Linked DNA regions of Homo sapiens: region 1 is linked to region 2. Evidence: promoter capture Hi-C in human tissues and cell types (Jung and others, 2019). All regions are on one chromosome and are shown on one strand. Each heading gives the region's core, a stretch centred on a gene start or on the middle of the fragment in contact. The rest is flanking DNA. Distances are from core to core; before and after follow the strand shown. Region 1 overlaps PRH1-TAS2R14 (PRH1-TAS2R14 readthrough). Region 2 holds the start of LRP6 (LDL receptor related protein 6).

The links. Contacts are between HindIII fragments. The study calls those that stand out against the background at their distance.
Region 1: a contact is called between a fragment that was not itself captured here and the fragment with the promoter of LRP6 in region 2, in 1 of the 25 tissues and cell types used here (heart right ventricle).

The regions. Positions count from the first base shown.
Region 1 is chr12:11,121,680-11,127,187 of GRCh38, forward strand. The region is part of intron 1 of PRH1-TAS2R14 (PRH1-TAS2R14 readthrough); the gene reads right to left. The region is part of intron 1 of PRH1-PRR4 (PRH1-PRR4 readthrough); the gene reads right to left. It also overlaps a transcript of PRH1 not described here. Among named protein-coding and RNA genes, the nearest start is that of TAS2R30, 10 kb to the right of the region's middle. The HindIII fragment of the contact is 7,268 bases long and covers 529-5,508 here.
Region 2 is chr12:12,263,714-12,269,323 of GRCh38, forward strand. It overlaps LRP6 (LDL receptor related protein 6), which reads right to left and starts at 3,331. Exons shown (of 23, transcript NM_002336.3): 1 at 2,968-3,331. The coding sequence starts at 3,022. RefSeq lists enhancers at 1-161, 3,338-3,974, 3,512-3,561 and a silencer at 3,022-3,331. The HindIII fragment of the contact is 18,079 bases long and covers 1-5,456 here.

The DNA.
Region 1 (5,508 bases), core at 2,913-5,412, 1.1 Mb before region 2:
TGTTTTTGGTATACATATACAAAATTTACTCTACGTATGTTTGTCACTCAAATTTAATTGTGTGCATCATTATCTAACAACAACATAAAATAAGAATTCATAATGAAATAAAACCTACCCCAAAGATACATTCTCCTCATTGATTTAGAGTTGAATGTCTTTACCATCCAAAAAATTAGATGTTCAAACAATGATAGTTAAGTTCATACATGTGGTACAAATTACAATGGAAAACAGCAATAATTTGCTGATAAAAGCTATATGTTCTTAATTATAAATAGAGATAATTCTTCAAATGAAATATCATACAATAAACTATCATATAATAAACATACATATATATGTGAAATGTACTCGGCTTCATAATTTATGGTCAGTGTTGTTATTCATACACATGCACACATATACACACATATATATATGCGTGTGCACTCCTGTAACTTGCTTCAATGAACAGGAAATTAGTAGACTTTACACAGAGATTTAAGATGGCTTCCACATTGGAGTTTCTTGCTCTTTTCCATTTACCATAAGGACATCATCTGGCTATTACACTGTTCCCAGAAGAAGAATGAGAAACTAATGGAGTCAGAATGCCACTGCCTGATCTAGCCTAAATCATCCAAACTCTATCTTCAAGATGCAGTACGTGGCCCATCTCCAATCACCACAGCCATCCATCAAACCCAGCTTAGAAAAATGAAATCCAAAGACATATGAGATACAAATATCTAATGTAGTTTTGGAGGATTTTCTCTTGCAGAAAAACATAAGTGACATAGGTATTCTGCTAAACCAAAAGTGTGGGAAATATGTCCACACTTGTTGTGTCAGGAATTCAGGATACAAGGGAAAAATAGTTGGAGAATGTCAAAGTTTTGTCATATGAAGTCAATAATTAAACCTAAAAGAAAAACCTGTTGAAAAATCTGGGGTTGGCAGGAAACATCATGTCAAATTTCCAAAAGTTGCAACTAAAATCAGAAAGTTTCTTCTTAAAATCTCTTAGAGTTATACATGAATGTATACAAATAGTGGATTTTTCCCTTCAGTATATAATGAGCAGGGTAATAATAATTTTCATGGAAAATTTCTCCTAATTAATAATTTTTATAACTAGACTACACACTTAGAAATGGGCCAAAACAAAAATGGAAAACATAGCAATGTATCATAAACACTCATGTAACCATTATGTAGGGCGAGACATGGAACATTGCTAAGAGGCTAGGTTTACCTCAATGCCACTTTCCAATCCCCTACACCTTTCTTCACACCTCTTATGATAAGTACATCCATAATTTATAATGATCTTTTTTTATTTTCTTTGTACTTTACGAACAAAGCATGCAACCCTAAACTCAATAGCTTCGTTTGGTCTGCTTTGAACTGTGTATAGGTGCAATCCTATATGTCCTTATTCATGGCTTCCTGGACTCAACATTATGTATCTGAAATTTAATCACATGGTTGCATGTACATGTGATTCATTTATTTTCACTTCTGTATATTTTTCCATTTTATGATTTTACTGTAATTATTTATCCATCTTTATTTGATATATATTTGGGCAGCTTATTTTTGAGCTATTATTAATAATGCTACAATGAACATTCTTTCACATATCATTTGCTACAATTCCTTTGTGTATATATATCTGGGTGTAGATTTATACGGTCCTTGATTATGATATTCAAATTCTACTCACAGACATAGAAAAGCCCAAAACAGTTTGACTAAATTTATTCCTGTCACTTTATCTCCAGTCTCTTTATTGCTATTTGCATATATCTTATCAATTATACAATTAATCCAACAAGACACTATTGTTTTCTACAGGCAACATTTATTTAGAATTACACACTTATTTTTCATTGTCATTAATTTTATTGCTTCTTGCATGTTCAACTTTGTATTTTCAGTACAACTTTGTATTTTCTCTTGCTCTATTTTCTCTCCTCTAATCTTACAGAACTCCAGAAGTATGTTACATATTCCAACTGTAGCATGAATTTGTTACCCTCTAGTCTTATATTTTCCATCTTTCTCTCAGTGCTTCATTCTTTGTAGCTATCTTCCAATTCACTAATTATCTCTTCTACTCCATCTAACTGGTTAACTCTGTCTATTGGATTCTCAATATTGATAATTCATTTTTTAGTTTTCTTGTTTTAGTGTTCAGAATAATCTTTTATTATCTTTCCATAAATTATTTTCTACAGGGAAACTGAACAAACTAATCTTAACGCCATGTTCTTTTTAAAAGTGTTTTTGATTTTGGGGTTTTTTGTTTTCTGTTTTAGTATGTTAGAAATGAAAATGGTAACAAATTCCTTCTTTTTCCAACACTTTGGTCAGAGAATAGAATAAAAGCTTCATCTTGGAATTTACCTTCAATTTGAAAGAAACCGGAAATGAAGTTCATATAAGTAGCTTTTTTGGGATAGTAGCTTGTCTTGCTGGGTCCTCGCCACACAATCTCCTCACAAGGAAACTCAATGAGTAGCACTGCATTTCAAAATATCATTGCAATAGATAAAATATAGTTCATCAACCACAGCTATGTCATTGTATTCCATGAATTAATTTTCACTTTGCTTATGTTGTAGAAATGGGGCTCTGTGCCTTTGAACTCCATCATTACCTACATGAAATAGAGAAGATGTGGGGGAGGGCTTACTTATTTGATTTGTTTAGCCCTAAAATCCTCTCTTTAGAAATAAGAGCTTGATCATGAAATGGTTTATTTATTTTTCTTATTAAGCAATTTTATTTATACTAAAATCAAAATCTTTTTATAGTGTTCCTTGGATTAGTTTAATATCATCTATAATTGTTTTCTTCAGCAATGTATTTTAAACTGCACTACACTTAACTTTCTAAATCTAAATGTATTCAACTTGACTTGAACTTTGCTGTTTACTAACGTAAATTTCCCACAATGATATCTCTTAGAACTTATGTAAACGTTGTCCAAATTATGTATGTAAATATTTCAAAAATAAATCATTTAATAAGATAGATGTAAATGTAGATGATTATAATAATGATGATAATGTCAGCTAAAAGGGAGAATGTTATTTGATAAATGTGATTTGGGTCTTCTTTTCAATGTACTAGAGTTAAGGGTAGTGGGAGAACACTATTATTCTTTCTCATGGATTTACGATTTTTTTTTTTGACATGGAGCTTCACTCTTGTCACCCAGGCTGCAGTGCAATGGCGCAATATTGGCTCACTGCAGCCTCTGCCTCCCTGGTTCAATTGATTATCCTGCCTCAGCCTCCCAAGTAGCTGGGATTACAGGTGCCCGCCATCACGCCCAGCTAATTTTTGTATTTTTAGAAGAGATGGGTTTTCACTATATTGGCCAGGCCAGTCTGGAAATCCTGACCTCAGGTGATCCACCAGCCTCGGTCTCCCAGAGTGCTGGGATTACAGGCATGAGCCACCATGCCCGGCACAATTCTTGTATTATTCTCAGCATCAGGCCTAGACAAATACCCTCACATAATATTTCGTCAAGAATAATACAAAACCGACACATTTCCAATGATTTACTTGCTATTTTTTTTCTTTTACCACATTCTAAAAATTACAGTAAAATTGACCTCCAGCAAAGAATACTCTCTTGTTGGCTGTTTAATTTTGTTCCACTTTCCTATGAACTTACACAAATACTCTTTGCAATTATAGAGTGAATAAGCTTCATTTCATCTTTTAATAGCATCATTAACAAGTTAAATTCTCTCTACTGCTTATTTACATTCTCAGCTACTGTCACAAAATCTGGGTGATTTTATTATAGCAGTCCAAGTAGTTATACTACATATGTTTTATGCCTTAACAAAATTATCTTTCTACTAATTCTCCTGTAATATTCAAAAAATTTGTAGTATCAAAATATTTTTCCTCACACATGTGTACACATGCATGGTATTATAATCTTTGAATGGTAAAAATATGTGTATTATTATTTCATTTAGGGATAAATTTAGAAAATTGTCCTGTATATTTAATATCGATATTACTATATTGGAAATTCACTAATTTCTGCCACTTTGAAATGTTGTGATCATAAATATCTAAATTGGAAATAAGAAAAAAAGGTGTCTAGCAAAATACAGATGTGCAAAATCTGATGTTTCAAAATAAGAATAACATTAAGAGTGTGGAGGTAGACTTCCTGTTTATCTCTTCCTTTTTAAAATTAATTTAAAGTTTAAAATTTTATCTTGGATTTCTTACTATCATAATGCTCTATTCTTCTTTATTCAGCAAAAATTCTAATTACCATGGTGTCTACAAGAATGTTTTTTCAGCCTATTTTATATTCATTCATTTATTATATGATTCTGCTTTTAAAATATTTTCATTACTATGAAACATAACATATATATAAATTAATAAAGCCTGAAGGTACAGTATAGAAAAAAATTATAGCATTAAGGGTCATGTTACCACATCTTGGTCATGAAGTAGAATTTACCAGCAATCCAGACACTCCCCATATACACCTTCTTGTTGATATCATTTCCCTTTTGTTTCCTCCGTCCCTACTGTGCCAGTTGTTACAATAATCACTCTTGGGTCTCACTTTAGAATTTCGACAACAATGTAATAAATTGCAATTCATTAAAAATATAGTTTTGTAAACTTTATATAAATGTAATTATACGGAATCATGTTTCCATCTTAATATCTCTCGTATCTATGTAGTGCAAATTTGTTCATTTTCCTTTTTATTAACATTCTTTATAAACGTCTCTCTAGTTGGTTCATTTTGATTGCTGTATAGTATTCTATTGTATGACTATGCAATAATTTATTTATCCATTTTATCACCCATGGACATTTGACAGACTTGTCAACTTTAGCAATTAAAACTCAGTGATATGCATGTGTGTGTATATGTATTCTGATAAGAGTGCAATAGTGGGTCTTCAGATGTGATCCATCATCTTAATCAGATAATGCCATACTCAAAGTAATTGCACTGATTTACAATTCTAGGATTACAATCCTAGAGTGTAACTGTACTAGACATATTTCCTTTAACCAAACATTATGTCAAATGACTTTGGGAAAATATGATTAGTTAACAGTATACTGTAAGGCAAATTTTAGCATTGTTTAACAACTCATTAAAAGGACTCAAAGAAAATAATATGTTGAAATATCAAAATAGTCTATAAGCCTAATGAAGGTGCCCATGGGAAAATACAAATTCTACCATTACTGTTATGGAAAATAATGATGAGTAGTAAACATACCATGTCCGCATTTTTTAAGGCAGGCCTAATACCAATGGACAAGTTTCCCTTTAAGGTCCTGACCTTAATTTCTATGTGCTCCTGATTTCTGACTGTGCAATAACGTTCTTGTTCCTTTTAAATTCTCTGGCTAATGTCAAACAGGAAAGCACCGGGGAATGCTATTGAATGAGTTCAAGGCTGTCTTAATGGAAAACAGGATAATTTCCAAAACAGCTCAAATTAACTCCTATTC
Region 2 (5,610 bases), core at 2,081-4,580:
GTCCCAGCTACTTGGGAGGCTGAGGTGGGAAGATCACATGAACACAGGAGGTCCAGGCTGCAGTGAGCAGCGATCATGCCACTGCACTCCAGCCTAGGCAACAGAGCAAGACCCTACCTCCAAAAAAAAAATAGGAATTCGTGAACCTGGCCAAGCATGGTGGCTCACACCTGTAACCTGTAATCCCAGCACTTTGAGAGGATCACTTGAGGCCAGGAGTTGGAGACCAGCCTGGGCAACATATCAAGACACCCCCACACCAACCCCATATCTACAAAAAATTGGGGGCATAGTGGCACGTGCCTATAGTTCAGAGCTTTGGGAGGATGAAGCAGGAGGATCACTTAAGCCCAAGACTTTGAGACTGCAATGAGCTGTGATTACACCACTGCACCCCAGACTGAGTGATGAAGCAAGACTTTGTCTCTTTAAAAAAAAAAAAATTGTGAACGTTATACAAATTAAATCTCAAATCATGAAAGCATTTGAGGATATGTCCCTGAACAAGCAAAAATTATAGCAAAAAGTAACATTAACAAGGTACTCCATATTATTTCATTTAAAACACCCAATAACCCTGCAAACTAGTCAGGTATCATTATCCACACTACCAGTAAAGAAACTGAGACCTAGAGAAGCGGACTAGACCAGAACCACAAAGTTATGAAGTTGTGACACTTGGGCTTTAAATCCAAGATTTTAGTATTGAAATTCCCAAATCTTTCCTTTATACCTTGTCATGTGATGATAGAGATAGGGACACAGCACTAACAGTATTCCCTGGCTTTCTGCTACTAATTCAACAGGGCTACAGGACAGAAGGTCTCCCAGACTCTCACATACCCCATCACACCCAGCCAATGTTAAAGCCCCAATTCTTTGTGGGGGAAAAAAATGACCTAAATGCAACAAATCAATCAGATTTTTCTCCTTGGAGTCCAAGGTTGACTAAATATCTTTACTATAACAGAGGATGACATTCTCAAAGAATGAATTAATTCTAAATTATGAACAAAAATATTTTACATCAAAAGACAGTTTTACTTCAAATAATATGTACTCACAGCTAAGTACAGTACTGTTACATATTAGAAGACCACCTTACACCATATTTCGCCACATTTAAAACGAGAGCTCCACTTCTGAAAACTTTGCTAGTGGAAACGAGACAATTTAAACTATTACCTCTTCCAGGTCTTGTTACATAAATAAGTGCAACCTATCTAAATTCCAATAATGAACAAACCCAGCTCTGGTCTCAAAGCTGGTGTTAAACAAACGGCATTTACATCACACGCTTCTCCTCCAAGAAATACAACTAGACAACCAGAAACATCCCAAGTTATAAGTTTTCCCACGACTCTAACCAATCAGCTGGTTCTCATATTTGTCAGCCCTATTAACCTTATGTCTTAAAATACATACATATTCTTATGTCAAATATAGTTGTTTCTAACAGCTACAGCAAAACCCCTTTCAATAGAGTATGCCAATAATAAAATAAGTATATACTTATGAAACCTCTCCAGTACGTAACACTTCATTAAAATTTCTGCCACAAAAATCTAATGAACACTACCTTTCCGGGGTTTACATGTGGGAAAACTTTGTAATATGCTTAGAGTATCAAGTAATATAACATGCAAACACAATGCTGCATTACTACAGAGTAACTGAAGAAAGTATTTCTCCTCCTCCAAAAAAAAACTCAATCATTCTCATCCGAAATACATATACACAGTACACGCAAAAATATACACCTGTCACAGACTATTAGTTACTATTAGTGTTCTGTAAACTTAAATTAGTTTGGAGAACTTAACAAAAGTTTAGCTTGTTAACACCTAAAAATCTCCAGCGACCAGCGGTCACATGCCTGAAAAGAACTTACTATGAACGCCAGTAAGAACTTTACCAAACCAAAACTACAAGCCACCGTATCGAGCAGTACTTAAATTCCTCTGCTGGTAAATGCTCCACAGCCATCACAGCCATCTCAAGTTCAACACTAAATAGTTTGAGAAGAGCTGCCGACGGGCCAGTCAAAAATCTTTGTGAACTGTCACAAAAGTCACAGAGCATGTGTCAGCTTTGCAGTCCAATTCAAAACATCATAGTGCCATCGAATTCAAGCGATTCCCAGAGCAAATTATCTCGAACAGCCTATGCAATTTACCAAAGTGCCAAGCAGTCCCCAGGGGTGCAGAGCAAATTATCATTTTGGTCCCAGGACCGGCTCCTCTTCACACGAGGATGAATTTCCCTACTTAGTGCCAACTGTACACTTGCATACTCCGAAAATAGGGGCAAGCCGTGAATACCAGAGGTTACAAGGGCAATGTTTTATTTTATTATGGGCTGAAGCTCAGAAGGCTCCCAATGCTGAAACGCTCGACCTATAACCCCGGAGTCACTTTCCAACTGCGCTCTCACCCAGGGTCATTATATCCCAAACGGAAGCCAATCATTACCTGTAACAAGGCCTGGAAAAAATAGCAAGAGGGCTTTAAAAGTTCACCTAAGAAACACCGAAACGGGGTGGGGAGTGGGTGGCGGGGCTTCGATGGATAAGGCCAACCTTAAAGCATCTCGGACTCAAACATTTTAAAAGCCAAAATACGTACAAAGACCCTTTTCCCTGGAAGACCCCAGGCAGAGAGAGGCACACAGACACTCAGTCATCCCGACAGCATGGGGTGCCAAGGGTTCCCTAAGACCAGCAGCCGGGATCGAAGCTCCGATGTGTCCGGGGAAGGTCTGGGAAGCCAGGCCAGGTCCGCATTGTGGCCGGGCGGTGCACGCAGCCCCTGCTCCCGGGCCCCTTTCTCTCCCCCTCCCCACGACCAGGCCTCTCCCCGCTCCTCTCCCCTTCTCCCTTCCTCCGTCCCTCCCCTCCCCCTAGACACATACAACAAGGCCACCTCCCCCCGAACCCCACCAACTTTCCAGTGCCCCCACTCTTCCCACCTCTCAGGAGCACACAGAAGCTGCAGGCCAGGAGGCTCCTCAGGACGGCCCCCATCTTCCCTTCTCGCGTTCTCTTCTCTCACCGGCGAGGGGTGGCCAGAAGTGGGGGAGGCGAGGAGCCGGGGCGGCCGCCGCAGCGGCAGGGCTGCACGCTCATACTTCCCAGCTTCCCAGCGAGAGAAGAAAGAAAGGGGCACGTCAAGGTTCCGCGCGCGCCGCCGCCGCCCTCTCTACCGCGCCGCTCGGCCCCGGGCTCGCGCGACGCCAGCGTCTGCTTCCATCCCGCCGCCTCCTCCCCCGGCGCCCCGCTTCCCCCGCGCAGCTCCTCATTCAGCCTCTGCCTCGCGCAGCGGCGCAGGGATACGGTCGGCACCGCCTCCTAGGGTCGCCGCGACCGTGTCCCTGCGCGCAACGAGCCCCTTCTCCCGGTACTGCCTCCTGTACGGCCAGGGAAGGGAGTCGGCAACCGCACGCACAGCCTCTGCCTGAGACCCTGGGAGAGGTTCTGGGCTAGCAGAGGCGAACTGGGAGGGAAAGCCTCCTCCCGGTGGCGCATTCCAGCGGGATTCTTTCCCGGACCGGCCGCTTCGGCCCTCCCCGCGGAGGGCGTGAGGCGGCGTTGAACAACATTGGAGCCGGCGTGGTCGGGACTACTTTCTGCGGCTCGGCCGGGCAGCCGTCTGCCCCGCTCTTTGTGCGGCCGCCGCCGGCAGGGCCAGGTGGGGCTCCGGTCTCGCGCCCCCAGCCACCTGAGACTGCCCAGCCGCGGTGCACGCGCGGGGAGCCACGGCGGATCCCGTTGCGGGGTGATGAGCTCCGTCTTCGGGGTTGGAAATCGGTTTCAGCATCCTTTTTTTGGGAGGGCGGAATTTTTGAACGCTGTTTACACCGGCTTTCAGCGTGGATCTGGTGAACGATATTAAAACGCCAATTCAAAACTGAGATTGTCATTTTTCTCCCGCCTTCCCAGAAATACAAACTGCCCCCAGAATTAAGCCCGACCAGCTAAAGATTTCTAAACTGGCAGATAAAATTCCAAGATAAATGCCTCAAAACCTAAGAGCAAAGGGACAATTGGACAAGACTATTTAGGATTTTACAAGTTGCATATAATAACGAATGTTTGGCATGCTTCGATTATCAATTCTCAGCTTGAGAAGGAAAAGATTCCCTAGAATCTCAGACTGTGCACAGCCTCTGCTACTCCCAGTGCATTGGGCATTCAGGAGTAATGGCCCAGACGCCCCCTGAAATCACCTGCCAGGCTTTCGTCTGGGCAGAGGCGCTCCAACAGTTAACCCTAATGGAGCCATCAGATGCATCCTGCCCAGCTGTCACACGCCCTTACCTGGAGGCAGATGGGCAAGAAAGTGGAGCTGCTACCACAATGTTAACAAGTACCTCAGTGACATTGGAGTTCACTAGTGCTTGAACACAAGTTATCATATTTGACACTCAAAACTACCCTGGGGAAAGGCAGGTTTTGTTACTTATTCTTTATTGCACAGAGGAGCAAAATGAGAACCTGAGAGGTTAATGACTTACCCAGGGCCACTCAAGTAATGAATAGCAGTACCTCAGCCCAATCCAGGTCTCTGACTTAAGCCACTCCGCTCCTTCCAAGAAATGCGCGCTGAACCAAAGGTGCTGCAGGTTTGTAAGTAGATGGACAGCAGAAACAGCCAAATCACTTTCTCCCAAATTCACCTGAGGTCTAGTCACCGTTTATTTAAATGACCTGCTTCTAAGAACCAAGTGAGTTTTGTATTCTGGCTTCCTCAAAGCAGGAAACTGGGCCGGGGGCGGGTGGCTCAGGCCTGTAATCCCAGCACTTTGGGAGGCCGAGGCGGACAGATCACGAGGTCAGGAGTTCGAGACCAGCCTGGTCCAACATGGTGAAACCCCCGTCTCTACTAAAAATACAAAAAAAATTAGCCGGGCATGGTGGCACACGCCTGTCATCCCAGCTGCTCAGGAGGCAGAGGCAGGAGAATGGCTTGAATCCAGGAGGCGCAGGTTGCAGTGAGCCGATATCGCGTCATTACACTCCAGCCTGGGCAACAGAGCAAGATTGCGTCTCAGAAAAAAAAAAAAAAAGAAAAGAAAGTTAACCTTCACTTTCACAGGCCCCTTCCAATGTCTGGGGAGGGGCCTTTATGGTATGTTCACATGGTCCTATTTGCAAAACAAAGATAATTTTGAATTCCTCTTCTGTATAATTGTATTATACAAAATTGTATAAGCTTCAAGTCCCACAAAGCCTGGATCTGTCCCTATTTATAATAGAAAATGCGGTACAACTGGCCGGGCACGGTGGCTCACGGCTGTAATCCCAGCACTTTGGGAGGCCGAGGCAGGCGGATCACGAGGTCAGGAGATCGAGACCATCTTGGCTAACACGGTGAAACCCCGTCTCTACTAAAAATACAAAAAATTAGCCGGGCGCGGTGGCGGGCGCCTGTAATCCCAGCTACTCAGGAGGCTGAAGCAGGAGAATGGCGTGAACCCGGGAGGCGGAGCTTGCAGTGAGCCTAGATAGCGCCACTGCAGTCCAGCCTGGGCGAAAGAGCGAGACTCCGTCTCGAAAAAAATAAAATAAAATAAAAAAGAAAATGCGGTACAACCTAAATCTCCTCAGACTAT